Regions from separate parts of the Homo sapiens genome. Here regions 2, 3, 4, 5, 6 and 7 are each linked to region 1. Evidence: promoter capture Hi-C in 16 types of primary human blood cells and fetal thymus (Javierre and others, 2016). All regions are on one chromosome and are shown on one strand. Each heading gives the region's core, a stretch centred on a gene start or on the middle of the fragment in contact. The rest is flanking DNA. Distances are from core to core; before and after follow the strand shown. Region 1 holds the start of RGSL1 (regulator of G protein signaling like 1). Region 2 has its middle 6.8 kb from the start of ZNF648. Region 3 overlaps NPL (N-acetylneuraminate pyruvate lyase). Region 4 has its middle 27 kb from the start of ZNF648. Region 5 overlaps NPL (N-acetylneuraminate pyruvate lyase). Region 6 holds the start of LOC105371642 (a long non-coding RNA gene). Region 7 has its middle 66 kb from the start of ZNF648.

Region 1 (4,167 bases), core at 918-3,417:
CAGTCCTTGATTTATTTAATCTATTCCATATGGGTGATTCCAAAATCTGTGTTTTCAGTCCAGGCTTCTCTCCTTCACTCTGGTTTTAAATATACATGAGCTATGGGCCAGCTCTACATGCATATCCATCAGGCACTTTCATCTCAACATGTTCAATGTGTCCAGGCCTCCCAACCTGCTCCTTTTCCTACATTCCCAGTCCCAGTTACTGGAATTATCATTCAATAAATTATCTAATCCTGAAAACTGAGGCTCTTCTCTCTGTCTCTGTCCCTGTCTCTCACTCTCACTCTCACTCTCAATCTCTCTTACTCTTGCTCTTACTCTCTTGTTCTCTCTCTCTCCCCTCCATGTCCCTACATGCAATGGGGGATCATGCTGTATGGTTTCTCTTTGTACCTATCTCTGGAATCTGTCTTCTCCTTTCCATCCATAAAGTTACTCTTCCATTACAGGCCTCTATGCTCTCTCACCTAGACTTCTGCATCAGCTTCTTAAATGGTCTCCCTAGCTCCCACCTCTTGCCCTTCCAACCACCCTACACGTACTGCCACCATAATCTGTTGATATTATTATTGTTAAAGTCTTTCAAAATCTCCTTGATGTCCTAGAAGGTAAAGTCCAAACTCTCTAGTATAGTATCTGAGGCTTTACCCCATCTGGCTTTTGAGTTTCCTCCCAGTCTCATTTCCTGCCTCTCTGCGCACTCTGCCTCCTGTTTGCAAGCTAAGCCAAGGCATTGCTGTTTCCTGCATGTGCTAGGTACTCTCACTTGAAACCTCCATGTCTTTGTTCCCATATTCCCATTGCTTCAAATGTTTTCTTAAGCACAGTCAGCTCACAAATTAATAGTCATCCATTAAGAACTGGTTTACATATAATCTTGGTGAGCCAAGAAAGGTAGAATCTACTGCAATGGTAGAATTCATCACTATCTCCCTATACCATCACGTATATCCTCCATTATTACAATTAACAAGTCTGACTGTTTTTATCCATCGATATATCTGTCTTCCTCATCAGACTGAGCGTGTGAGAGGAGGGACTTTGTTTTTTCACCTTTCTTCCTCTAGGCTCTAAAAGTGTTTGCACAATGTCTAAGTTCTGTAAATGTGGAATAAATTGTTCTTTCAAAAGATAATCTTCAATCTTTTTTTTTTTTTTTTTTTGCCAAAGTCTCACTCCGTCACCCAGGCTGGAATGCAGTGGCAAGATCTCAACTCACTGCAGACTCTGCCTCCCAGATTCAAGTGATTCTTGTGTCTCAACCTCTCCAGTAGCTGGGATTACAGTGCATGCCACCACACCTGGCTAATTTCTGTATTTTCAGTAGAGATGGGGTTTTACCATGTTGGCCAGGCTGGTCTTGAACTCCTGACCTCAGGTAATCCACCTGCCTCAGCCTCCCAAAGTACTAGGATTACAAGGGTGAGCCAACGCTCCCAGCCAATGATTTTCAATCTTTTGGACTTTTGTTTGTTTATCATTCATAGAGTCTAACATGGATTTGTTGAATGAGTATATTACTGAGCCCATCTGAATACAGAAAAGTGGGGTTTGGCAGAAATTCCCTAGTGATTGTTGTTCACAGCTACACACACCGCTGGTGGCAAGGGGCCTGACTATGCTAGGGCTTGCCATTGCCAAAACAGTCTTAAGGAGATATAGAGACAAGGCTCTGTACATCCTTCCCTTCCTCATCCTCTCATTTCTCCATTCTTGTTTTTCCTTCTTACCTGTTCTGCCTTCAAACTTCCTAATAATTTGAGAAGGCTTTTAGCACCCATTCCACGCCATAATAATATTGACTTGGCAACAAATGAAATCACTGCATAATCTCAAACCCCATACCAGTCTTCTCTCTGGAGGAGAGGTGGCCCAATCCACATTTTACTTCCTCCCTCTTGCCTTAGTTGTCTTATGAATAAGGCCCTGTACTATCCTCAAAGATCTGGTGGCAGAAGGTAGGAGGAAGGGGAAGAAGGAGAAAGAGAAGGAAAACAAAGGCATGAATAACACAAAAGTCACCCATGGTGCCCCTGAATGGCTCAGATCTATTAACAATTGGGAAGATGAATGGTTTGCCTTATTTGAGAGACTCAAGGCCTTGGAGACATCCCTGGCAGAGACTCACCAGCACTGCTCATGTTGCCATGCTCTTCCTGACACAGTAATTTGTTAGGGGCAGAATTACCCCCCAGTCAATAGAACTATATCCATTGTGAACACGTAATGACACCTTCTCTAAGGGGTTCCAGATTCTATCTGGCAGTGATCTACTTACCTCTGGTGTAGGCCTTAATCTGAAGATAAGTCTTTATCTTACCTAATCTGCTGAATCCCCTTGGACATACAAGACTCCTCCTATACTTAAGCCTTTAGTTCATACTATTTTATTTGACAAGTTCTTTATAATTGTGCCCAAGATCTCTTGTCTGCTCCAACCTCTCCCATGCTAGGGTGACTTTTGCATTGCTAAACTCAGCTCCTAAGGGTCTTGTAAACGGTTACATTTGATGTAATTTTAATAAGCAGTAACTCCTGGATATTCTGCCCATTTAAAACATCAACCTCCATTGCTTCAGCCCAGGAATTCAAGGCTGCTGTGAGCTGTGATCACACCACTGAACTTCAGCTTGGGCAACAGAGTGAAACCTCATCTTTAAAAAATTAAAATTAAAACATCAGCTTCCAAGAGGTTTGAACTCCCTTCCTCTGAAGACTCTTCAGGCTCTTGGTTTTCTCATTAAACAACTCTTCATTTCTCCTGTTCTTCCCTAATAGGAAGTAAATATTAAGATGAGAGACCAAAAGCCCTATAATCCTTCAAACTTTAGCCAAGAATTACTGAGAATAGAATTCTTCAGTGTCACACCCAGAGAGGGCTTTTAAGTCTTGGGATTGTAGGGAAGCTTATATAATGTCCAAAAGGCTTTCCTATGGGGGGTGGAGGGAAAACTGAAAACTGGAAGGATTATTGTTAATAATGAATCGTCAATACAATATCACTTACATTTGAAAAAGTGCTGTACTTTCTTTAGAATATATAAAGACCAAATACTGCATTTTAAAGTGATTTTAGTGAGAAGAGATTCTTGCTTTACATCTTGATGTTCTATGTATTGCAAGATGAGATTGTAGCTTACCATACTTCTTCAATCTGTTATCAATTACCTTATTCACCTTATTAATTAGTCAGTTTAACATGCACACATCTTAAGAGAGTTCAGTGTGAAGCACTGCATGATTCTACAATATCATATTATTCCTTGAATTATCACCTCTTTTGCAAAATAAATAGAGTCAAGGTCTCCTCCTAAAATAATGGCATATACAGTAGTAATATATGCTCACATTCCTTAAGATGGAATGCTTTCAGACTGTTTTCAATCAAGCTGTGTGCACCTACCCTTGAGTCCTAATTGCTGCCCCACCGTCTTTCCCACAGTTCAAAAAGGCTGACTGTTGGAGCCATTAACAACCAAATAGGGTCACTCTAAAAACAGTAAAGATGAAAAGCCAGTATCACTGGCTAAATCTTGAAATGCATAATGGTTAGATCCCTGACCCTTTCATGACCTTCTAGTTCCCAAAAGAAAAGGGCACCAGATGTCTCCCAAATGTGTGGTAATAAGAATTACCTTATTGACAGGGTTGTTGTTAAAAACCTAAATTGCCGGGACCGTCCCCTGGCAATTCTGATTTAGAAGGGGTGGGGCTCAGGAGTCTGTATATTTTCCAAGTGCCCCCAGATAATTATTATCATCAGGTAAATATAGAAAATATTGGGGCCAGATGCAGTGGCTCACGTCTGTAATCCCAGCACTTTGGGAGGCCAAGGTGGGTGGATCACTTGAGGACAGGAGTTAGAGACCAGACTGGCCAACATGGGGAAACCCCTTCTCTACTAAAAATACAAAAAAATTATCCAGATGTGGTGTTGCGCACCTGTAATCCCAGCTACTCAGAAGTCTGAGGCACAAGAATTGCTTGAATCTGGGAGGCAGATTTTGCAGTGAGCTGAGATCGTGCCATTCCACCCCAGCCCGGGCAACAGAATGAGACTCTGTCTCAAAAACAAACAAACAAACAAACAAACAAACAAACAAACAAATAAATTGGTTTCTAAATGAAATAGAGCTGCATTCACATCTCAGATCTGACATT
Region 2 (4,167 bases), core at 568-3,067, 380 kb after region 1:
GTGCATGCTTATCTAATTATGCTCTTACCTAAGAAATCCCAGAGGCTAATATTGAAACAATCCAGGTGCCCCACTCCTCCCACTTAGGGGGAGTTGTGAACAATTGAGCCAAAATCAAGCTAATACCAACCAGACCTCCTGATGAGCAATTAACCAAGAGAGCCAACGGAACAAGACACACAAGTCCAGTACCCTGTACCACTCCCACATGTCCCCTATACCACATATCCCTTTAAAAACTCTATGGTAAGTTATAAAATGTAAGATGATACTTTAGAATGCTAGCTTGCCATCTTCTGGGTTTGCTGGCTCTGCTTTTCCTCCCAGAACCCCTTGCCTCTGGCTTTGCAGCAGCAAGCAGCTGAACCTGGGTCCGGTTACACAGCCGTGTCCTTGGGGTGCAGAAGAGGCACCAGGCTCCTGATACCAGCCCCAGCTCTGATTCAGTGCTCTTGGTGCTGTAGTTCAACTTGTCTACACTGTCCTATGCATAGAGCCAGGCTGGTGAGCCTTCAGGAATGTCCTGGGATCCTCGGCAGTCCCGTTTTTCCTGGTAAAGAAGGACTGCACATCACTGTGCAAAGGGCCTCTGCCATATCTCATCCTCCCTCCCCTCCTAAGTGAGAAAACCTGGCTGAAGAGCAGAAGCTTGCTCTCCAGAGTAGCCATGCCTGGAGCCCTCACACCTCTGCCCTTCCCTAACTAGCCTGGGCACCTGGGGTGGAGGTGGTGACAGGTGGGTGGGGGAAGCGTGTCAAAATAGAGTTTTTGTCTCTGCAAGGCCAAGGACTGGGTCTGGCCCAGGCACTTTCATCTGATGAGGCCCAGCTATTAGCAGATTGTTGATACTTTTTATTCCAAATGTAAGATTTCAATTCTACATATGTACAAGAATGTAATTTGCTTCATTGATGTTTTCAAACATGATGACATAAAATTGCTCAAAGTATGCCTTTATATTTTTATACCTTACTTATATTTTATTTCTTTTTAACTCACCCAGCCCCCACTCCCCATTAGATTTGCCAGAGGTTTTCATGGTCTTTTCAAAGAATAGACATGCTTACTGTTCAATATAGGCAAAACCAGGCCACAGCTCATCCTGCCAGGAGAATCCACACCTACAGAGGGATGCCGCACTCCAGCAGCCCTATAGGAAATTTCTTTCAAGAAACTTGCTTCACACCCGTGGCCAGAGTGCTATGAAGAGAGGTCCTCTCTGGTTACGTTCAGTGCAGCAGTTGAAAGAGGAAAAGGGAGTATGTTTTTATGGAAACCTCAAATGCCCTTCCACATCTCCTGTGAATTACCTCTGTGTTCAGGCAGCCGAGCTAGACAGCTGCGAGGAGAGGCGTGTGGTTTTGATGGGGGCCTTGGAAAGAAAAGGCCCCTTGTACCCTGGCCAGCGCATGTAGGTGGTGTGACCTGGGAGGACAGCGGAGCCAGGAGCTCCGCAGCTGTGTCAGAAGCCAGGCTCCCAGCGGCAATGTTCCAGGGAGCCAAAGGGGGAGCCAGAGAGCCGGGAGGCTCCAGCCTGGTCCAGAGAGAAAGAGACAGCACCTGCCCAAGGCGGTAAGCAAGGATCAGGGAATATGGGGGAGAATTCTGGACGGTGGCGAGCCCCCTGCCTTTCCCTTCCTCTCTCCTTCCTTCCTTCCTTTGTTCCTCCCTTCTTTCTTTCTTTCTTCTAAGAACAGAGAGGAAAATTTTCTTTTCTTTTTCCTTTGAGACTCGGTCTCACTCTGTTGCCCAGCCTGGAGTGCAGTGGTTTGATCATGGCTCACTGTAGCCTGAGCTTAACTGATCCTCCTGCCTCAGCCTCCTGAGTAGCTGGGACCACAGGTGTGTGCCACCACATCCAGCTAATTTTTAAAAATTCTTTGTGAAGGTGAGGTCTCCCTATGTTGCCGAGGCTGGTCTCGAACTCCTGGGCTCAAGGGATCCTCCCGCCCCAGCCTCCCAAAGTGCTGGGACTACAGGTTACAGGCATGAGCCACTGCACCTGGCCCCAGATTATTCTTATGTACAGCAGGGTTGATGCAATGTACAATGTTTTTCAACTGTGTTTGACCAAGAATCAGAGCAAACCAGACTATGAGATACAGTCTTCATTATATACCCCCAGACTATGTTTATAAACCTAAAACAAAAATTACATGAAACTATACTTTTATGTGTGAGACACTTTGATATATTCTACTGTCTTCTGTTCTATTCTAAAAAAGAATGTTGGTTGTGGCTCACTAAAGTGATTCCCTGTCATATTCACAGATTGTGTCCTGCAGTCTGAAAAACACTGACATAGTAAAGCTCAACAAATGTTTGGTGAGTAAATGAATGATCGAACAAATAAATGAATACTTCAATCTCAACACCAGTAAAACAGAGGGGCTGCACTAGATAATTTCTTAGATCTCTTCATTAAAAATACTGAGGTCGATGCCTTTGTTTTTAAATTTCCAACAGCTTCATCATGCCCCTGGGCTCTGGTAAGCCTCAGTTCAAGGGATTCCCACTGATACAAGAGATCAGAGGGTTCTTTTTCAATGTGTTTATTACGTAAAGATAAGCAGTATCTTCCCTTCTAACCTCCCCAGACCTTCTATCCCTGAGCCCAGAAGGACCAGTAAAGTCAGAACGTAAACCTAAGGTATAGAAGATTCCCAGAAGTCTCATTTGTGGTGTTCTTCCTCAGTTTTCTACAAGGTCCCAAGGCTGAGGTGGAATGTGGAGGAGTGGAGGCCTGAAGTCTCTGTGGCCTTGAAAGATGTGGTAGTCAGTGTGGGCCAAGATAATATGCTGCTATGTCAGTAGACAATTTGAATCTTCAGCCTCTTGTACCCTGAGGGTTCCATGAACCCATCCAACTGCTTGCAGTGAAGCCCAACCCACTGCTTGCAGCTTATGCTCCCTCGGCCTGGGCCAGAGGCTTCCAGGGTCATCTGGCAGGGTCACTATAGTGCAATGTAGGTCTTGAGAAGCTTGGAAAGGGCTGGTCTTCTGGTGAGCTCCAGAAGTGGCTCCAGAGACCACTGCCTCAGTAGGACCTGGTTATACTGAGTAAGGGCTTCAGAAAGTTTGAGGAAAAGGTTCCAGTGGAGACCAGAGGTGGGTTCTCTGGGTTCTCTGCTGTTTAGACAGGAGGTAGAGGTGCCTTCCTACCCCATATTATATTGTTAGCTAATACTGATTGGGCACTTGTCCATCCCTTGTACTCTGCAAAGCACATCATCTCATTTAAACCCCACAACAACTCTGTAAGCTAGATATTAAATATTATTATTAGCCATAATTTACAGACAAAGAAACTGGGGCACAGAAAGGTTAAGCAACTTGCTCACAGTCATGCAGGGTGTAGAAATAGGATTTACCCAAGTAGCCTGATGTCAGAGCCTGTATGCTCCATCACTACACTGTGCAGTCTTCACTGGGGCAGGTGGTGTTGAGTTAGTGAAGAGAAGGCATTCTACCTGGCACTGTTCTGCAGGGGGTGCCAGGAAGTACTGACATGTGATGTCATTGCCTTATAATGTCATCCCATCCAGAGCACAAACCTTCCACTCTGTCACTGATTGCCACGTGTGCCAAGTGTAGCACGCGATGACAGACCCAGGTTTATGACATCACTGCTCTAGGAACGTTATTGGCCTCAAAAAAGGCTGCTTGGTCAGTCTCTCAGTGGGAATGTTTGGGGCTAGGAGACCAGAATCAGAGAATGGCACCCTTCTGGAAGCAGAGTAATTAAGGGCTAGCATTCTGGAAGAACAGGGATGGAGCAAAGGTATCAGCAAGCTCCCAATAGCTCTAGGATAAAAATAATAAGGCTTATAATTTATTGAAAAATGACTATACAGCTAACACTAGACCAAATGCTTTTAAAATGTGGTTTCAGATTATTTTACAACCCTATCATGAAATTATTCTTATTCCCATTTTATGGGTGAGGAGCATGAGGCTCAAAGAAGTTAAGTAAATGGACCAAGATCATCAAACAAACAGAAATGGGATTAAAGCCAGGCCTTTCTGACTCAAGGTTGTGTACTGAGTTCCTGTCCAATTCTGCTTTCTGCATGTGTATTCATACTCAGCAAAGTTTGATGCCTGCATGAAAAACAATATTTAAAGTCTCCACCATGTATTGGCCACTTAACTGCCTCTATCACTCCT
Region 3 (4,167 bases), core at 719-3,218, 370 kb before region 1:
ACTATCTTATATTTTGCTGCTTTTTTCCATTTAACATAGCATGTAGATCTTTCCAGGTCAGAATACATAAAGCTATCTCATTTTAAGAGCTATATATAATTCAATTGCATAATAAAATGTATTTAACCATTGCCTTATGGATGAATATTTGGGCTGTTTTTATCTTTTGCTGTTACAAACAAAGCTGCAAGGAATATCTTTGTACATGTGTAATTTCACTCATGTAAATATAACAGATGGCACTTAAGTACATTAAAGTGAATGAGATAAATTTAGCCCTAACTTTTTGTCTGCTTCTTCACTTGACTACAAGCTCTTTAAGAGCAGAAACCACCTTTACTGAAATTATGTACTGAGTAAATAAGACTCACTCACACGTGCTTTCTTAAGAAGAAACAGAGAATGTGGTAAAATAAGTTCCTTACCAACATTGTTTTCAATGGGATGATTTATTTGAAACAGAGAGTGGTAAACTAAGTTCCTTACCAACATTGTTTTCAATGGGATGATTTATTTAGAGTGGGACTAAGAGGGGAAAAAAGATGGAGACTAGATTAACCAATAAGAGAAGTCACTGAATGGAAGGGTCAGCATTATAGCTGCTTCAGTCTACTCCATCTATGATTTCCATGTTCTGCTCAGAACAGGTTAGAATTTTCAGAAATAACCTTTTCTAGGAAACTGGGCAGGGTGGAGAGAACCATCAATGCAAGGAGATGGCAGAGTCTGCACAATTCATTCTTCTCACCCTTATCTAAACCAAAGTCTTGTCGATGTTTAGTTTATTTGGCACAGCTTCCTAGATCCCTACCCTGTTCCTGTTCTTAGCTTCACTTGGTCTGAGGACAAAGGCGAATATTACATATGGTATTTAAACTTTAAGGAGGAAGTAGATTTATGATGGCTCAACTTTGAGGCCTACGGGTAGGGAATAAACCACTCTGGATTCTGCTTCTTCATGTTGTCTTTGGGTTGGGGCTGCAGGTCACTTCCTTTAACCCCCAGGATACTTTGTACTTCTGATCTGTAATCTCTGATTACCCTGATGGCAGCCTGTCCTGTTCAGAAAGATCCCACAGCCAAGCTTTATTAGGACCAACCATTTGCTCCAATCTTGCTTCTGTCTTTCCATTCCCACTTATTTTCTTGGGATACTCCTCTCAACCACTTATACTATCCTGAAAATCCTCACGCCTCTCAGACCCCAAAAGTCTTGCTCTCATATCCACCCTACTTTCTTCCAATTCATTCCATTTACACTTTAGAACCATGGGTTAGAACCAGATGTTAGCTGGGCATGGTGGCGCATGCCTGTAGTCCCAGCTACTCAGGAGGCTGAGGCGGGAGGACTGCTTGAGCCCAGGAGGATTCAAGGCTGCAGTGAGCTATGATCACATCGCTGCACTCCAGCCTGGGCAACAGAGCAAGACCCTATCTCTAAATAAAAGACAACCAGTTGTTGAGACTGTTCCACCCTTCACTGAGGCTCTTCTTTCCCTGATGGCTAGGCTGTCCTCCATGGAACATTCACAGCAGCCACTATGTCCTCTGGGGTCTTCCGTGCAACATATCAGCTTCTGCTGGTTTTTCCTTCCTGTCTCAAATCCTGTATCTACTTTGGATCACCCACTAGGCTCTTATTTCCTTCCTGGTGGATGTTCCTAGTTCTCAGCACATTTCCAGGGTGGACAAGACTGACCTGCCCTGACTTTGAATGAAGCCTTCCCCATTTTAGGTTACCATCTTCATAGCTTCCTCATATTCTGTGATAACTCTGATGTGATGTCCTCAAGGGGACAGCCTGTGGTCATTTTCCCAGAAATCTATGACCATTTTATTATAGTCACAAAAGTACTTTGAAGATAGAGTAAAAATAAGATCCTTTCTAGGAGGAAGAGAGGAGCCATCCCTGTATGGGTCCTGTCCTGATTAGACATGTCGGGAACACAGACAATGGGGACAGCTTTGGTTTTAAACAAGAAAAAGTACAAAACAGAAGAAAGGTAAAGAAAGAAGTGGCTGGGCAATTTTAATGAGGGCAGGCATGGTAGAGAGAAGAAAAAGAATCCTCAAGTGGGGAAGAAAAAAGGCTGTGATTTATGGGAAGAGAAGAAAACGTTTACCTGATAGTTCAGGGCTAAAGAGAAGTCCTTTTGTTCAAAAGCCTCCAACATCTGGTTTGTCTTTTTTCCCAGGTAGTTATAGGTACTGGCAAGACAATAACAAATACTGCAGGTTCAATAACTCAACAGGAAAGGTCCAGATCTTCAAATCCCTCTGCTGTTTAAAAGGGAAAAAATACACCTAGTCCTCCTAAAGTCTGTTTTTGAATCCTAATCTATTAGGGGACAAGACTGTCTTCAGTTCTGAGTTTTCCAGCAATACTGAGCAGTACTGCAGAGAAGGAAGACAGGCAAAAGGGGATAAAGGAAGAAAATCAGAAAAAAGATAAAAAAGATGGAGGTGTATTTGTTAGGAAGCGACTGAGGCCAGCTCTTGCCCTAGGGTACACACAGGTGCAATGCTAGACAAGAACTGTGGATAAAAGGTAGCATCTGAGGTGAGTCCTAAAAGCCTTATGCTGAAAAACTGGGTGGATGGAGCACCATGAAAATAGGGGCAAATCCCAATAAATTACCTATATTCCTTGCTAATGTGTATATTACTTAAAGACTAGTTTCTAGATAGTAATATTAATAATGATGATAATAAAATGAGGGATCATTTACTAAGTGCCTATTATATTATAGGTGCTTGACATAAATCATGTCTAATCCTTGTAAAACCCTGCAAGGTAGGCCTGGTTTTTATTTTGATTAAAGAAGGGCTTCAGGGTTTCCATGAAAGCTTTCCATTGCTTCATGTTGTCTTCTATAACAATTCAACAAAAATGAAGGTGAGAATTTGATCTGACAAAATATTTTTGTGGACTTAAAAAACTCTCCAACTCTACCTATAAAGATAAATATCTTAAATAAGTCACTGAATTCTTAGAGAAACCAGCAAGGTAGAAGGTTATAGAAACTCATAATAAGGATATTTCCCCAAGTTCTTTAAATTCAAATGGCTTCTCTCATAGTAAGTCGGTATCAGAAAAAGTATTTATCTTGATGTACCACTAACAGAAATGTTGTTGGACTTGTATATATAGAACTGGGGTCAACAGCAAGGGATTCCAGGAATGTGAAGCTCATGTTATCTTGTGGCAATAGAGCAAGGAAGAACAATGTCTGAGGAGTTTCAGAATACTAACATTTGAATCCCAATGGTCTTAGGTGTATCCCTGGTTAGACAGAAAGGTGATTATAACTAGGGAGAAACGAAGTCTAACCAAATGTACTTTGCTTATAGATTATGTTGACAGAATTAAAATGCCTAGTATGGAGGACAAAAAGCAGGAGCCAAAAAAGAAAGAATTTCCAGGCGGAAAAAGGTTTAATGGTGATATGGTTTGGATCTATGTCCCTGCCTAAATCTCAGGTTGAAATGTAATCCCCAGTGCTGGAGGTGGGGCTGGTGGGAGGTGATTGGATTACAGGGGCAGTTTCTCATGGTTTAACACATCCTCCTTTGTGCTGTTGTCGCGATAGTGAGTTCTCGTGAGATCCAGTTATTTAAAAGCGTGTGGCACCTCACTTCCTCTCCCTCCTGCTCTGGCCATGTAAGATGTGCCTGCTTAGCCTTCCGCCATGATTGAAAGTTTCCTTCAGAAGCCAAGCACACGCTGCCATGCTTCCTGTACAGCCTGCAGAACTGTGAGCCAATTAAACTTCTTTTCTTATAAATTTCTCAGATATTTCTTTATAGCGATGTGAGAATGAATTAATACATATGGTCAACAAATACACATTCAAATTTCCTCAGTAGAAATACCCCTGAAGTTACAATGGCTGTCATAGGCCATCTTGGCTTGGTGAACAAGCCATTTATATTATTCAACTCAGTCACTCTTCCTCACAGCCAGGCTCACCAAGACATGTTATAAATGTTATTTTGCTCCCCTGGTACCTTTCAGTTAATGCAAAAATTTCATTCAATCTGCTTGGAAGCATATTCTTATGAATCAGGTTAACATGTGCAGTGGACATGCTAATTGAATTGCCTGTCTTTTGCTAAGTAGGCATTGGGCCACATGCTTCTGGTTGGACCTGACATGGACACTTGCCT
Region 4 (4,167 bases), core at 521-3,020, 360 kb after region 1:
TAACACTCACCAACAGAAGGCAGGAAAAGGCTTGCTTCAAGCCTGACACACAGTGAATGCTAATTGCACCTTGCCTCTCCTCTTCCAGCCGGTTGCCATGCTGGGATTCTGTAGGGCAACTAGCACCGTTCCAGGTTTCAAAGAAGGAGGTGGCCTTTGTGTGGTGTCAAAACACTGAATTAGAAATCAAAAGACCTGTGTCTCCGTTACCTTTGTGGTCTTGGGCAAGTCACTTAAGCAATCTGACTTCTAATTTCTGCATCTATAAAAGGAACATATGCCCCTTATAGGTAATAGGGAAAGCCTATTACCACTGTCAGCCCTTGGTAGCACTTAAATGAGTTGGTTGAGTATGGATCTGACCCAGGATTCAATTCTAGGTGGATGAGATATTGTGGGACAGGTAGGGGCCTCTCAAGTGGGAGGGACTGTAGTGCATTAGTGTTTATTTTGAGCATTGATGCCCACAGAACTCATTGCACTTGGGCCATCACCTGCTCCAGTCCTCAAGAACAAAAATCTTACCGTCCCTGAGCAGCCTAGAGCAAGGTCATACAGATGACGTGCGGGACAAAGCCTCACTTGGGCAGAGGTGGCTCTTGCCCGCTCAACTGTGAGATGCAGGACAAGCCCTGAATCCCACAGGGTTTACCTCGAATGCATGCCCTGGGTTAGTGAGTAGTCATCGCTGCATGAGGAGTCCCTGCCCACAGCTGCTTCCACCGTCTGATCATTCCCCAGAGACCACATTCAAACCCCAAAATTGGAGCTGACAAGTTCTTATTTTTCTTTATTTTGTAATTGCTGTTACTTCTGGGGCTTGCAATGAGAGGAAGGATTGGATAATAGGCTTCTGGCCTGGAGAGATGAGATGGGAATCTAGTTAGTCTTTTGGCCTCCACATGAGGTTTTCATGGATTTCATATTCACACCTCATTTGGGGTCTGAGACTGTGGGTGATTTTGTCCCCATTCCTGCCCACATCTGTCCAATGGGCTGTTACAGTTCTTGGGGTCCCCACTCTCTGGACATGGTCATGCTCAGCAGGCCCCTACTCCCTGACTCCTTGAGCCAAGAAGGCCATTCATGTGGTTTCTCTGTGCTGCAGGGCACTGTGTATGTACAGGGAGCACAGGCCTTAAAGGAGGGGCTGTGTCTTTGTTGAGGGTGAATGTGTGATGGATGCATGAGGTTTCAGTCATGTCAGCCAGTGCCCATTTAAGCAAACACCCAGGACTAGATGGAGCAGGAAACCATGAGCCTCTGTGGCTGACTTGGGAGATACCTTCTTTCTTTACAAGTCTGTTCTGGAGTCAGTGGTGCTCCTGCCACTTCAGCTGGGCTCAGGACACCGAGTGCAAGATGCAGTTTCAGGATCTGGAATCCACAGCGCTAGTGGGCTGCTCAGGGGAGGCTGGGAGAGGTGTTTCTCTCGCAGATGCCCTGGATGGCATGGGTTCTGCTAGGTGGCTTGGTGAAGGAAAGGGCAGGATCCGTCTCACACATTCCAGGCACTGTGGGGGTCAAATATGAAGAGCAAGCTTACTTTTTCCCTCTGATATTTCTCTTGCCTTCTATAAAACAGAATGTATATTCCCTTCCTGCCACTCATCAGAGCATCTTACAAATATTGACTCTGTGTGCTAAAGGCCTACCAGGGCTGCAAGGGCCCAGGGAAGCTCAGCCGAGCTCTAGGGCAGATGTTAAGGAAAGGGAGGAAGAGGACCTCTCTCAGGGCTCCTGTCACAGAGATGCTAGGGAAGCGGCCATCAAGAACTGCCAGAACAGCTTCCTTACAGCCAACGATGCTAGCCATGGCACCCAGACCCAGGTTATGGAGCCCACTGGCTCTGCGGATTCCAGATCCTGAAACCGCATCTTGTATTCGGTGTCCTGAGCCCAGGTGAAGCAGCAGGAGCACCACCGACTCCGGAACAGACTTGTAAACACACTTCATCTAATGGATGGGCCCAGCTCTGTGCTAGAATTCAAAGCTTAAATGAGACTCGGGCTTGCTATTGAGGAGGCACAAGTCAAGGGGAGGAAACAGGCCCCCAAGCAGAGATAAAGATATACACGGTGCTTCACCCAACCCACAGGCAGGAGCACCCTGTGCTTCTCTGCAAGGTCAGCAACTCAGGGGATGCGACCTCTGCCACAGCTCCACAGGGTCACTTCCCTTACTTTCGGAGGAGCACCCATTGGGCACTCAAATCAACACCCTGGGTTTAGCAGCCACTCTGTGATCCCAGCAGCACGGGGTGCTGCTGGAAACCTAAACATTTATTCTTTCACTCAAAACGCTGAGCGCCTACCAGGCGGCACACATTGCACTGAATGTCAGAGCCAGAGATCCTAAGGCTCTGAGGTGGGGAGGACAGAGCTGGAGGCAGATTACACACCTTAAAATGTGGGTGCAGAGGTGGGCAGGGAACACCACTGGGATGTGCCCATGAGGATGAGCCAAGACGGAAGAGCTGCGACTTGTTTACCAAAAGGCATTGACGACTCGATGCTCCGTCTTCCGTGGGAATTCACCCAGCTTTGTTCAGATGTTACTACCTCTGCCCTTCCCAGTTCCTACCCCATGAAAGGGCATCTGAAGGTGCTGACATCAGAAATGGCAAGTCAGGACACACGCAAGTTCCACAGGGCTTCCTGCTGCCCCGCCCAGCCTCTTTGCAGCCGCCTCCTGCAGCCCCAGGCACAGGCCTGACTTTGGTACAGTTGAAGTAATGCCCCAGTTTTGCCCTGGGCTGGGACTGCCACCTGGGGCAATAAGGGTGGTTGTTTTCCCCTGTGGTTGCCCTCCTGGTTACCTTAGTGACTCATGGAGGCAGTGGGCCAGCCTGGGACAGAGGAGCAGGGGTCTGGTCCAGGGCCAGCCTGGGGCTCTGATCCGCGGCTGCCCCAGATGTCCAGATCTGACCAGGAGCTATGAGGGAGGAGCCTGCTCCCATATAGCCATAACTTTTCTGTTCTGAGCTCATCAGTGTGGCCTGATAAAGTCTACAGAGAGGCCCTCAAGGAGGAAGAAAGAAAAGGCAGGGAAATATACTTTTTTTAGCTAGAGCTCCATCAGCGAGTACAGAAAGAGAACATTCTCCTAGGAGAAAGCAAGGCATACTCTGTCCTCAAGGTGCCATTTTCCCCAAGCAATAGAGGCAAGGCCAGATGAGCTGTGGAGGGGTGGAAGATGAGCTTGTGGCTCCCCACCCTGTCCCTTGCATGCACACCCACCCTCAGGGGCTGCAGCTGGGGTGGCTGAGAGGGGAATCCCTGGTTCAGGCTTTCCTTGTCTTACACAAACTGAGAAGGAAGCCTTGAGAATGCTGGTAGTGCATGCAGGGTGGAGCTGAGAGGGCGGAGAATGAGGTTTTTCACCCACCCTGTGGGCCCTCCTGTTTCCTCCACCCTCCCTGTAATCTCAAAACATCCTGACTTCACTGAGCAAAGGCCCCAAGCTTTTCATGGAAGAGCAGCAGCTTGCAATAGCCCCAGAGTCTGAAGATAACATCTCCCTTGCGGTGGCAAGAAAAGGCAAGGGTGCTCAGGAGAGTGCAAAAGTCCTCAGGCCCCAACCAGAAGTTCTGCCTCTGAGGTCCTCAAAGACACGGGCTCCATCTCCTGCTGTTCCCGCTTTGATTTTAGGGTGTTGCTTTGCTGTACTGGTGCCAGTAGCGGCCACACTGCAACTCTGCTTCAGGCACAAGGATTGGGGTGGGACCCTGTGTCCGCTCTGAGAGCACTTCTGCCTCCAGCCCTCTCTTGGTCCTTGTCCTTCATGTCCTTTTTTGGTGTGAACTGGGTTCAGGAGAGAAGCCCAGGCCCTGACATCTGTGGTCAATGCACACACTCCAGGAAGTTGTCTTAGGGATCAACCAGGGGCACCCACAAAATGGACTGGGGATCATGACTGGCCTTTCCAACCCACAGACCACCTTCATTCCACTCAAAATAGCGCAGCTCTGACTCTACTTAAGAAGGACGCTCTGATAACATGCTGGTGACTTTCACCTAGAAATGGAATCCATCCTTCAGGGCCCGGCCCCCTTCCTGCCTCCATGATGAAACCTTCCTGTCCCTTCCTGTCAACCCTGAGGCGCCACCACCTTCTCCTTCCCGTCATGTACTCACAATAGTTAACATCCACGGCTCTCTTCCCCT
Region 5 (4,167 bases), core at 1,104-3,603, 350 kb before region 1:
GAGCTTGGGAGGGGGATGTTGCAGTGAGTCGAGATTGTGCCACTGCACTCCCGCCTGCTGCGAGACTTTGTCTCAAAAAAAAAAAAAAAAAAAGCAAGTCTTTCATTAGACTTACTAGTGTATAAAAAGGCAAGGGTTGGATAGGTAGAGAAATCCTACCTTTCTAGCTGTGTGGCTTGGGGCAGCTGGGCTAGCCTTTAGGATCTCCGTTTCTTCAACTGCCAGGACAGAGATACCTATGGCTCCCTCACATAGCTGTTGTCAAGATTAAGTGGGAACATGTAAATGAAAATGCCTGCATGATGACTGACATAGCATCAATCAGTGTTTGCTTCCTTCCCTTTTTCTCGACTATCAGCACTAGTAATTCCTGCAGTATATTCACTCATAAAATAACAAAAGCTACCACAACTATGCCACATGCTTAAGATATAAGATAAATAAGATAATTTCTCAGTTCTTGTATATTATTGGCATTCAATATCTATTGAACAGGGCTAAGCAGCTCAAAGCCTGCTGGAAGACATAGACAAGTAACAAAAAGTTATTGTAATAATAAACAAATAATTCTGATGCAATACAAAAAGGGTGCTATGGGATCACAGGGGAAGAGTATGGACAGGGTGCTATAGAAGGGTCATCTAACTCCTTTTAAGAGAATTGGGGAAGAATTTCTAAGGATGGTTTTGATAGATGAGTAGAAGTGTTCAAGTGGAGCAAGAAAGAAGAAGATGGTGGTAGAAAAAGGCAGAGGAAAGAGAATGAGTGAAGGCATGAAAGGCAGAAGAGGTATGGTGACAAAGAAATGAAGCAGGAAAGGTAAACTGTGAGGACTTCCTATGCCATCCCAGGGAGTCTGGGCTTTAATCTTTAGACCGGCTCATCTCAGACTTTAATGCGCTAAAGAATCATCTGGGACACTGTTAAAATGCAGGACTGATCTGTAGTATGATACAGCCCGAGCTTGTGCATTTCTACCAAGTTCCCATGGTGGTGGAGCAACTGGTCCATGGGCCATATGATGGGTAGCAAGGCTTAGACAAAAGAGAGTCAAGATTCCTAAAGAGGAGAGTGACATGATCAGATTTATTTACTAGGAAGCTCACTGAGCTACAGTGTGGACGATGGACTGGAATTATAGGTACTTTATACATTCTTATTTAATGGTGATCCCCACAATATCCCCAATGACATGAGAGGACTGCAGACTCTTAAGAGTTGGAAAGGGTCATAGAGATAATGTGGTTGAACTTCCTTTGGAGAATATGAAAGAGCTTTTTTTTTTTTTTTTTGAGACATATTCTCACTCTGTTGCCCAGGGTAGAGTGCAGTGGAATGATCTTGGCTCACCGCAACCTCTGCATCCCAGGTTCAAGCGATTCTCCTGCCTCAGCCTCTTAAGTAGCTGGAACTACAGGTGTGCGCCACCACGCCAGGCTAATTTTTGTATTTTTAGTAGAGAGGCGGTTTCACCATGTTGACCAGGATGGTCTCGATCTCTTGACCTTGTGATCCGCCCACCTCGGCCTCCCAAAGTGCTAGGATCACAGGCATGAGCCACCGTGCCCGGCCGAGAGAGCTCTCAAAAGGTGACAAGATCTCCCCAGGGTCGGAGAGCTAACTAGTGGCAAAGCTTGGGATCCAGGACTCACATCATTTCACTAAGATCTACTTACCCATGTTCTTTCTGCCAGCTACCCTACTCCAGGACATCAACTTATATGCAGAAAGCTGAATTGTTACTGAGCTTTCATTGGAATTGAGAAGAAAAAAGGATATAGGGAAATAGTCCTTGTTCAGCCACTCAGAATTATGGAGGATATGTATATGTACATGCCAGGTTAGGAGAACTCCCACAATGGCAGGTCACCTGGCAGTATTTCCAGGTATTAGATTCCATGTGCCCCTTCCTTCCATCTCATGTCTTAGAAACATGCCAGAAGTGCAGATTCCCTTGTGGGTAAGTACATTAAAGCCTACGTGTTCTTGGTGGGTGTTCCAAAGCTACTTTATACCTACAGGAATGTTTGATGAAGCAGGTGGTGGGAGAAAAGGGAACTAACATGGCTCACATGCCTACTCTGTGCTATACACTGACCTACACTATTTATTTCTTAAAGAGCCTACACATAATGCATTCTTTTTTTTTTTTTTTTTTTTGATTTCACACCTTAGGAAAGTAAGGTTCCTAGAAGAAAAACGCAGAATTGATGAGAAAATAGTAAAATGGATGCAGCAGGACCACAGATTTTTGGGAAACGGAAAAAGATCCAGAAAAAGTCATTTTAGTTATCTCTATCATGGGATCTGGCCTTCCAGGAAAACGGCAAAACAGGGAGGAAGAACACACTGACATTGTCCGTGGGTCCCTGATGAACAAACAAGACTGTTTTAAGAAGCCACTTCCAGGATAAGAGGGGTCTTATTAAAAGGTTAAAGTAGTATGGACCAGATGCAGTGTTAGGAGATTACAGAAAGGATCTCACTCTGTAACAGGAAGTAAATCCTGCCGATTCATGCAATCACATGTCTTCTGTTTGATCTGCGAACAAGTGACTGATGCATTGAGAAACAGCTGATGCCAGTCTTTCTTAAAACTTGTGGAAAGGGGAAGTAACAGAAAAAAAATTATTATTAACCAGCTGAGTAATCTAAATGCCGTATCAGCAAGAATCTTATTTAGACCTAGTAAGGACGTGATTTTTCATGGATCTTAGAAGCCAGAAGTCTTGGACTCATTGGAGAGTCTCTAAGGTAGAACTGCAAAATGGCCAACTTTGAAGGAGAATACTAAAAGACATGAGAAATTTCATCTCCTTTAAAAGGGTAAGATGAACGTTTATAAATTCAGCAACAGAAGACCAAAAAGAAAGTCCCTTGTAAAAGGTGTACTAAATACATCTTCCTTTTGCCTCTGCCTTATGACATAAAGGCAGTTCAAACTTTTTGACCTAAGTGCGTATTGACCCTGTGCCAAGCACTGTTGTATGAATTATCTCATTTAATGCTTATAATTCATTATGTAGGTATGATTATTATTATAATATTACATAGAAAGAAAGGAGAAGCTTAAATAAGCCAGCATTCTAACTTTTTGGCAGCCTGACTCCTCTGACAGGTCAAAAACATATAGATCCAGGAGGTGGATGAACTCTCTTTTGTCAGGGGTGATGTTCAAGGAGGAGTTATACACAGTGCATGGCTCCCTATGTCACAGGGCCTTTTTGTTATCTGATTTTTTAGCAGAAGGACTGCCACTGTATTCATCTGGAGGTCAAAATACTTGCTTGGGGTAATGATTAGTCAACAACGGACTGTTGTTACTTCCCTTCCCCCGCTGCCCAACATCTAGTCAATGTTGAAATGAGGCTGTAAACAGGAAAAAAGAGTCCATCTTGCAGATAACCTCCCACTTTCCTCAGGGTAGGACATTTTTATCAAGTCTATGAACAGCCTGAAGTGGAATCATGCTGACGTCCAGAGACAGCATCCTGAGAGGGCCTAGGTCAGTGCTTGATATCCAATTATGCTAAAATGGGATTCTCATCCAATGCTACTGGCCCTGTTTAGAAAGGCCAAGGCTGTGGTGAAATCCAAGGAGAATTTGCTCTGTGGTGCTACAGACACTGGGAGAAAGGCAAGCTGCCATTTCTCACCTTCTCCCTTTCTGCAAGGTGATATAGTGCTTCTCTGACTTTGGGGTCAGAGATATAATGCCTCCTCAGACTTGGGGATCAGAGACAGTGCAGAGGGATGACAGACAGAAGCTGCCTTTTGGCAACAGTTCTACAGAGGTGCAGGGTCTTAAGTGACTGTTGTTACAAAGAACTTCTCTCCTTTTTGGTTGAATGAGAACTGATCCCCTCAAGGCCCCAAATGATAGTTACCCATTCTCAGTCATTGGCGTGATGGTTGCAGCCACAAGACCCTGAAGTTTCTTCTTTGGGAAGGCCATTGAGCTGCTGGTAGGTCTGGAAAACATACAATGTAATTTCTCTCTTTCTTCAAGGAATGTCAATGATAAAACTCCCAGGCAAAGTCCATTTCTAGTTTAGAACTGTAAAATGTGCTTACAAGTACACAAACACACAGAGCAAGTACAAGATGGTAAAATTTTAGTGCTTAATTCTATTGAGGAGGAAACTTTAAGACAGGAGAGGGTAGACT
Region 6 (4,167 bases), core at 466-2,965, 340 kb after region 1:
TACTGGAGTAAAGAAAAGAACAAAGGGTGGTCTTCCCTTTTAGACGTTCTTTATATCCCATCTGCAACAAATGTACAAGACCTAGTGACACATTCTAGATCATGTAGGCATCTAGGATGCCTTTGTCTTTGTAAGTCACAGAGCCTGTGGATGTGGGTTCCTGTGAAGGAACAAAACATGGTCTGGTGCAGTAAGCAGAGGGCAGCACCATGGACAGTCATCCACCTGTCTTCTAATCATGGAGGCACGAGCGCTAGAAATATAGTAAGTAGCAAGGAGAGGAGAGGAAGGGAGGGGGGAATCTTCTTTCTCTGTGGAAAGAATCATGCACTCTGAAAAGCAGGACTTTCGCGTTCTTCTCTGGGGGTGGTGAATACCGTTTTTGGAAAATCAGGAATGTGATACACATGTACAAGAAAGGAATGGTCATCCCTTACCCTCTGGTCTGGAGGTACCAGGCATAGCCTGTCACATGCTTCTCTTCCTTCTGGACCACTTTAATTATTCTTTCTTTCTCTAGCTTCCCAGAGGCCCTGAATAAATATCTCCTGTGTTATATTCACCCAGTAGCCTGGAAACAAAGAGTTTAAAACACTCTGACTTGTCATTTCTGTCTGCCATAAAGAGCACATCAAGAACCTAAATTTCTACTTTTTTACAGAAAAGGGATTAAATAATACTTCTGGTTTGAGCTCAGGTCATTAGGGGTGTTCTCATTACATATTCCTGCATAAGAACCCCTCCAAAAATGTAGTGGCTTAAAACAGCATTTGTTTCACACACAAATCTGCAGTTTTGGCAGGGTATAGAGAAAATAGCTCATCTTTGCTCACCTGGCATCAGCTGGAGCTGCCCTGAAGCTTCATGACAGACATGCAAGTGAATGAGCCTTCAGAAGTTTCCAGCTCCCAGCCTTTGTCTGTCAGTTCACTGGGAAGATGCAAAAATGAGAGCTAAAATAGCTGGGGTTCATTGGGCCTCTCTCTCCCTCTACATGATATCTCCACATGACCTTTCCAACATGCAGCTTCAGGGTAATTGGATATCATCATAAAGAGCAGCTCAGTGTTCCCAAGGTGTGGGTTGCCTCCCCGCCCCCGCTCCCCGCCACACATTTTCACTCTATTATCCAGGCTGGAGTGCAGTGGCACAATCTTGGCTCAATGTAACCTCTGCCTCCTGGGCTCAAGCAATCCTCCCACCTCAGCCTCCCAAGTGGCTGGGACTACAGGCATGTGCCACCAAGCCCAGCTAATTTTTTTTTTTTTTTTTTTTTTTGAGACGGAGTCTTGCTCTGTCACCTAGGCTAGAGTGCAGTGGCGCGATCTCGGCACACTGCAAGCTCCGCCTCCCGGGTTCACACTATTTTCCTGCCTCAGCCTCCCGAGTAGCTGGGACTACAGGCGCCTGCCACTGCGCCCAGCTAATTTTTTGTATTTTTAGTAGAGACGGGGTTTCATCATGTTAGCCAGGATGGTCTCGATCTCCCGACCTTGTGATCCGCCCGCCTCGGCCTCCCAAAGTGCTGGGATTACAGGCGTGAGTCACCACGCCTGGCTACGCCCAGCTAATTTTTGTATGTTTAGTAGAGACAGGGTTTTGCCATGTTGCCCAGGCTGGTTTCCATCTCCTGAGCTCAAGTGATCCACCCGCCTTGGCCTCCCAAAGTGCTGGGATTACAGGCATGAGCCACCATGCCTGGCCAGGTTGCCTTTCATAACCTAACTTTAGAAGTTATTCAGTATCATTTCCATGACACTATACCCATTGAAGCAGTCACAAAGCGAAGGGGAGATGGACTTCATTTCTTATTGCAGATGGAGGTGGCAAGGTTCCAGAACAATATGTGAGACTAGAAATATAGCTGTGGACATTATTTGAAAATTCAACTTACGACAAGGGTTAAATCAATGGAGGGGACACAAATGTGTTGGGTTACTCGTTTCTGAGCTGTCAGACACTGAACTAATGAACTTTTCTTTTGCCTTTTGGGGGTTATAAGTTGTAAGAGAATAAGCAATAAAACCAAATGGAGAACCAGTCATTTGTAAAAAGCATTCACTCCCTTCTTCCCTGGGTCGCTTCTTCAAATCACTGGCAATAGGCATCACCATTATTGTTATAAAGCTAAGGGAAGCTGGGGTTTTTAGAGCAAAGGTGAGAAAGTTGATAGCGATCGTCTGGATTAATCGCAGGGGGCAGAGACCCTCACTAGCTACTGCTCCAGCAACTGAAATAACCAACTAGGGAACTTATCATTTCTGCTGAGAGAAGAGTTTTACTCTGAGGTACCAGGGAGATGGTTCCATGACATAAATATAAGGAATTGGTTAGGATGAGGAATGAATAAAGGCATAAAACAATGTACGTTCCAATCCCACTAGGAAGGAAGGTAACATATTAATAACGATAATATATTAACAAATGGAGCACCATCCTACAGAACACTGAGTCTCTTTTGATGGAGAAGATGAAAAAAATGTCAAAATATGTGAGGGCCCCAAAATGAGCAAACGAGAGCTCAGTATCAACGTGCCTATCTTGCTGTGTTTAAAAAAAAAAAAAGCTTTGAAAATAATATGATAATCACCCATTTATAAGCTAGAAAATATAATGGATCTTTAAAATATAATATTCATAGTTATAGATATTATTTAAAATTAAGAGAAAAATACACTCAAGGAACAACAAAATAAACCCCACCCATCGAAATGACTAAGACACCTAGACAATATAAATTCTAATTTTGATTAATCTTAATGATTATTATTCAATTTAGTTTTTCAAACTGTTACTAAGGGCCTATTAAATGCCACCATTAAGCTGGAGTGCTTCAAGTTTCTTACAGATAGGTGAGGGTGACAGTCATAAAAAACTGATTATGTGGGGTGGTCTTGTTTTGTTTGTTTGTTTGTTTTAGACGGAGCCTTGCTCTGTCATCCAGGCTGGAGTGCAGTGGCAAGATCTTGGCTCACTGCAACCTCCACCTCCCGGGTTCAAGCTATTCTCCTGCTTCAGCCTCCCAAGTAGCTGGGATTGTGGGCATGCACCACCACATCTGGCTAATTTTTGTATTTTTTGTAGAGATAGGGTCTTACCATGTTGATCAGGCTGGTCTTGAACTCCTGACCTCAAGTGATCTGCCTGCCTTGGCATCCCAAAGTGCTGAGATTACAGGCTAATTATGTGTTTTGATGACACTTTGCCATAGGAGCATGTGGAAGGGCCACTTGGACTAGACTCAAGAGGCAGAAGGTGATTCTTGAAGAATAAGTAAAGTTTTAAATAGGGGGAGAAGTAAGGGAAGAGAAATTCATGCAGAAGGAACAGCAGGAATACTTGGAAGTGTACGTAATATGTTTGGCAGTTTTAGACCACGGACCTCACAAAGGTGAACAGTGGAAAAGGAGGTTTGAGAGATAGGTAAGGGCCAGATTATGGAGAGTTTACCAACTGTGGCAAGGAGCTTAGACTGTCTGTGGACAGTAGGAAAGCACCAAAGGGCTTTAGGCAATGTTGTGTCAGTGTTTGATCTCTCTGTGGGGATGGTCCAGAGAGGATAAAGGTGAGACCAGTTAAAAGGCCAATGCTGACCTCCAGGTGAATAGTGATGAGAACTCACATTAGAGCAGTCACAGTAGAGATATTCGGGGTGGGGCAAATGTGAGAAATATGTAGACACTGACTCACCAAGCTTGGTGATTTGGATAGGATGCAATAAGAGATAACCCCTAGGATTCTGGTACAGGCAACTGGGAGGATGATGCAGTGACACCAGATACGGTAGTAAACACAGAGAAGGAGAATAAATTAGTAAGGGAAAAGGAGATGATGCTGAGTCCAGTTTGAGGCATGTTGAAGCTGGATTGACAGGAATAGGTCCTTCTAGTATTTGGCACTGGACCACCATCCGATAGTCTTCCCCAGTCCTAGGGACTCCTAGAAAGAAACTAGGCTAGTCTTGATCTTGATAATCTCTTGTAATATTTGGGATAGGGGAGCAGAGAATGGAAGCCTGGAATTTATAGACGTGTTCCACTTATACCATTTAAAAATTTTATCTTGAAAAGGAAAATTGAACAAGGAAGACACCTGATATACTAGATGAGGATTAATTTAGGTTGAGAAATATAATCCATATAGAAACTATCTTCATTTGAATTTTAT
Region 7 (4,167 bases), core at 1,225-3,724, 320 kb after region 1:
AAACACTTCTTCCCTTGGCTCATTCACATGGAAATGCAAGTCTGATGATCATGGACAAGGAGGTGATGGCTCCAGGAGCAGGGGTCAGGGTGACCTCCAGCTCCTCAACTCCAGCCCTGTGTGCACCAGCAAGGTTCACCCCCAAGCCACCAGTGCCAAATGGAAAAACTTTATTGTCATGTCTTTGAACACTTGGCAGGAAGTACCACGGGTGTTCCAATTATTAAACTAATAAGCACTCGACCTTGGTCAGCCCACTTTCTGGTGCACGTACTCCTAAGAGTTGGATGCAGGGAAAATTCCCGATCATGCATGAGGTGCCCCTTTGATTGCTATATTCACGATATGGGGCAGAATGAGGATAGCAGTAATGACTTTGGCAGTGGCTCTCCAAGATTCTTCCGAAGGGCTGTGCGTGCAGGTAGGGTGAGCTCAGGCCCGGGAGGTGCCTGGGATAATACTAGGAAAGGAAGCTTTAGATCTTGTTTCTTGAAGCCTAAAGAAACAGATATTGAAACGAGATCCATGTTTTGCAACCTAGCCTCTTAGTGACAGACGTAGAGAGAGTAGTACTGCCTTTGTTGCATCATTCCGCTTGTTACTTAACCTGTGAGGACACCTGCCCTGAGCAGAGCATTACAGATGACGCACAGAAAAATGCCAACCCTGGTTCCACTGGCACAAGCTTCACCTTCATTCACTGGAGCCTCAGCCCATAGCCACCCAGGGAGGCAGGCAGGGTGGTGTTAACCTTCCCATCTCACAAATGAGAAAACTGAATTGGCATATAAATGATTTGTACATGGTTAAGAGTTAAGACTTGAACCCAGGACTTCTGACCAACTCCAGTACTTTTTTTTGCAAGAATTTATGTTCTGAAAAGATCTCAAGCTAACCCACATGGTGAGGATTGGGAAGGGACATCAAATTTGAGACTACGATTAACTCTCAGTTTGAAGACAGCTTTCATGACATCTGGGATTCCCAAAGAACCACCAGTTACCAGGCTTTCTGTAAGAGGCCTAAGCTGAGACTCTCATCTCCAGGGATAGGCTAATACTAACATCATCAAAACAGATATGCTGTGTCCTTCAGTTTAGAAAACTGACTTCCCCTGCACAGTTTCACATTGTGCTCTCTACCTGGAGGCCAGGTTTCTCATCACCCCTGCCACTCACTTGAGCCTCCCTCCATGGCTGCTGACTTCTTTCTTTTCTTTCCCTGGGTTTATTGCCCTTCTTGCTGCCTTCTCCACTTTGCTATTTGAAGATGATTGCTGATGGAGATCAGAAAATTTTACATCAGCACTTTGTATACACTGGAGGAAAGAAAATAGAGAAAGGGAAGATGCAGCCAGCCATTTCTCTGTTTTACCCGCAGGCCTGGACAGCAGCCTTTTCCACTTGCCTCCTCCGACCTGCAGTCTGAATTCCATTACCAGGACAGGGCTTGCCCCAGGGAGGGGACCTCCTTCTAGAGCATTCAATGAAGCTGCAAGTATGTTGGTGTCCACAGTCAGCAGAACCTCTCATGACCATTTATTACATACCTGGGATCCTCTTAGATCTGTCAAATAGGAATGGTACTGTGGAGCTGCACCAGCTGGCGTGTAGCCTCAACAGCCTAGGGTGCTGCCTAGGGAATAGAGGGGCTTAGAAAAAGAGGTGATTCCTCTACAGTGACACACCAGAGGCAAAACCGAGGCTCATTTCTACTTGTATTAATCTCTTTTTTTTTTTCCTGTAATCTGTATGATTGAAGGATTGAGAGGAGTATTCTGCATCTTTTTAAATGGCAAAATAAACTGTTCAGGTATCCACTGTTAAGGTAGAGGGGAATGTGGTGTTGCAAGAAGAAAATTGCCCTGCTAGCACAGATATGAGAAGACAACAACTCCCAGAGCATGCAGTCAGCACCATTACTTTCCCTTAACTCCCCAAGGTGCCCTCCTTGCATTTATCTTTCTCTCCTACATTGATCTTCACTGGAGAATAAAAATTAGAGACAGTGAGGAATTGCATGTGATTTGTACTGGGTTCCTGGATCCACGCCCTCCTTCCTAGCCCTGTTCCTCCAGGCTGGCTCCACTGTGGCCTTAATAAACAGAGGGTGGGGGGCTGATGAAGACATGCAGAGAAGACTTGACTGCAGTCTGTGGTGTGGGCTGGCCTGGGTACAAGTCAGCAGAGGCACATTCCATCAGTTGGCAATGTTATGAGCATAATAACTTCCTTAAGTGATACAGGTTGTAGTCTTGTAGCCTAAGTTCTACAGAGCTTCTTTAAAATGTTTTCTAAGCATGTTCAGCAATGGCAGTTTACTATTAGTAATATAAATCATAGACCAGTCACAATGTTGTTTCTTTTTAATATTCCCAATTTTCTTACACTAAGTCTCTGACCAATATCAAAAAAAAAGATTCTTCAATTCATATCATCCTAATCTAAATGAATAAGTCTATGAAAAATGGCTGTTTCCATATTAGCTTCTTTGGACTACTTTGGAGCAGTTTTGGTTTTCGACTCTAGCCCCTCTCTTCCATAAAGCAGCCCTGTTAAAAGACTCTGTTTTAGATCCCTGATTTTGGCTACTGGTGAGAACCATCAAGGGAAACAGCCAGCCCTCTGTGTCTGTCCCACCTACAGACCTGGACAGTGGCCTTCTCCACTTGCCTTCTCCGACCTGAAATCTGCATTCCATTCCAACACAGGGCCTGCCCCAGGGAGGGGACCTCCTTCTAGAGCATTCTTTCCTACAGTCCCTGATGTCTGTGTTCTGAGATAAAGCAAGGCTTGTACTCCATCCTCTTTGCCAAGTATCTGCTTATCACTAGGCAAGGCAAATATTATTGGATGTTTCAAATTACCACTAATCAAATTCCAGTGCAGTCCAAATCATCTGGTTAATCATTTTGAGCAGTCCTGGTATTGACAAGCCCTTGAAGGAGGTCAACAGCTTCAATGAGGATAAATATCAGCATGCCCTTTTGTACTGAATGTGTGAAATTGACATTCAAAGATATAAGCTCCACCAGGGTAGGAATTTTCATCTGCTTTTTCTCTAATCTATCCCCTAGATACACCTAGAATGCTACCAGAACACTACCCAGATGAGTGCCAGGGACATAGTAGGTATTCAAGAAATGATTCTTACTATTTTTTTTGCAATTTATTTAAATTTTATTGTATATATTTAAGGTGTGCAAGATGACATTTTGATGTACATAGTGAAATGGTTACTGTAGTCAAGCAAATTAACATATCCATCATCTCACATCATTACTCATTTTTGTGTGTGTGTGAGGCAAGAGCAACTAAAATCTCTTTTAGCAAAAATCCCCAATATAATACAATACTATTAGCTGTAGTCTTCATGCTGTACATTAGATCTCTATACTTGTTCATTCTACATATCTGCTGCTTTTTATATTTTGACCTATATCTCCCTATTTCCTTCCTCCCCAGCCCCTGCTCTTGTAATTACTTTTTTATTCTCTACCTCCGTATATTCAACTTAAAAAAATATTTCATATGTAAGTGAGATCATACAGTATTTCTCTTTCTGTGTTTAGTTATTTCACTTAGCATAATGCCCTCCAGGTTCATCCATGTTTTTACAAATGGCAGGATCTCATTCTTTTTTAGGCTGAATAGTATTCCATTGTGTATATGTACTACAGTTTCTTTAGCCATTCGTCTGTCAACAGACACTTTGATTATCCTGGCATTGCGAATAATGCTGCAATGAGTATGGGGGTGGATATATTTTCATCTCTTTCAGGTATATACCAAGAAAAGGGATTGCTGGCTCATCTGGTAGTTCTATTTTTAATTTCTTTCAGAACCTCCATACTGTTTTCCACAGTGGCTACATGAATCTACACTCTCCCCAACAGTGTAATAAAGTTACCTTTTCTCCCCACCCTCACAAACACTTGTTATCTCTTGTCTTTTTGATAATAGCTATTCTAACAGTTGTGAGGTGATACCTCATTGTGGTTTTGATTTGTACTTCCCTAATGATTAGTGATGTTGAACATCTTTTCATATACCTGTAGTCATCTTTATGTCTTTTTTGGAGAAAAGTATATTCAGGTCTATTTTTTGATCAAGTTATTTATTTTTCTGATACTGAGTTGTACAAGTTCTTTATATTTTTGTATATTAA

The links. The method cuts DNA at HindIII sites, captures the fragments that hold promoters and counts their contacts. A CHiCAGO score of 5 or more calls a contact.
Region 2: a fragment that was not itself captured here is called in contact with the fragment with the promoter of RGSL1 in region 1 in 3 of 17 cell types (neutrophils, erythroblasts and monocytes); the score reaches 5.8 in neutrophils.
Region 3: a contact is called between a fragment that was not itself captured here and the fragment with the promoter of RGSL1 in region 1, in 3 of 17 cell types (M0 macrophages, M1 macrophages and M2 macrophages). The highest score is 7.1, in M0 macrophages.
Region 4: a contact is called between a fragment that was not itself captured here and the fragment with the promoter of RGSL1 in region 1, in 9 of 17 cell types (M1 macrophages, M0 macrophages, M2 macrophages and 6 more). The highest score is 13.1, in M1 macrophages.
Region 5: a fragment that was not itself captured here is called in contact with the fragment with the promoter of RGSL1 in region 1 in 7 of 17 cell types (M0 macrophages, M1 macrophages, naive B cells and 4 more); the score reaches 14.3 in M0 macrophages.
Region 6: a contact is called between a fragment that was not itself captured here and the fragment with the promoter of RGSL1 in region 1, in 2 of 17 cell types (neutrophils and erythroblasts). The highest score is 5.4, in neutrophils.
Region 7: a fragment that was not itself captured here is called in contact with the fragment with the promoter of RGSL1 in region 1 in 3 of 17 cell types (neutrophils, M1 macrophages and endothelial precursors); the score reaches 5.8 in neutrophils.

The regions. Positions count from the first base shown.
Region 1 is chr1:182,448,146-182,452,312 of GRCh38, reverse strand. It overlaps RGSL1 (regulator of G protein signaling like 1), which reads right to left and starts at 2,167. Exons shown (of 22, transcript NM_001137669.2): 1 at 2,135-2,167. The coding sequence starts at 2,147. RefSeq lists an enhancer at 1,722-2,329. The HindIII fragment of the contact is 4,233 bases long and covers 1-2,914 here.
Region 2 is chr1:182,066,475-182,070,641 of GRCh38, reverse strand. It overlaps a transcript of ZNF648 not described here. Among named protein-coding and RNA genes, the nearest start is that of ZNF648, 6.8 kb to the right of the region's middle. The HindIII fragment of the contact is 2,333 bases long and covers 651-2,983 here.
Region 3 is chr1:182,820,156-182,824,322 of GRCh38, reverse strand. It overlaps NPL (N-acetylneuraminate pyruvate lyase), which reads right to left. Exons shown (of 13, transcript NM_030769.3): 11 at 2,124-2,208. Among named protein-coding and RNA genes, the nearest start is that of DHX9, 17 kb to the left of the region's middle. The HindIII fragment of the contact is 1,763 bases long and covers 1,087-2,849 here.
Region 4 is chr1:182,086,712-182,090,878 of GRCh38, reverse strand. No RefSeq gene overlaps it. Among named protein-coding and RNA genes, the nearest start is that of ZNF648, 27 kb to the right of the region's middle. The HindIII fragment of the contact is 453 bases long and covers 1,544-1,996 here.
Region 5 is chr1:182,794,160-182,798,326 of GRCh38, reverse strand. NPL (N-acetylneuraminate pyruvate lyase) reads right to left here. Exons shown (of 13, transcript NM_030769.3): 3 at 3,888-3,971. The coding sequence starts at 3,955. Among named protein-coding and RNA genes, the nearest start is that of NPL, 6.5 kb to the right of the region's middle. The HindIII fragment of the contact is 1,435 bases long and covers 1,636-3,070 here.
Region 6 is chr1:182,106,877-182,111,043 of GRCh38, reverse strand. It overlaps LOC105371642 (a long non-coding RNA gene), which reads right to left and starts at 973. Exons shown (of 3, transcript XR_922341.3): 1 at 834-973. The HindIII fragment of the contact is 1,706 bases long and covers 863-2,568 here.
Region 7 is chr1:182,125,141-182,129,307 of GRCh38, reverse strand. No RefSeq gene overlaps it. Among named protein-coding and RNA genes, the nearest start is that of ZNF648, 66 kb to the right of the region's middle. The HindIII fragment of the contact is 3,573 bases long and covers 688-4,167 here.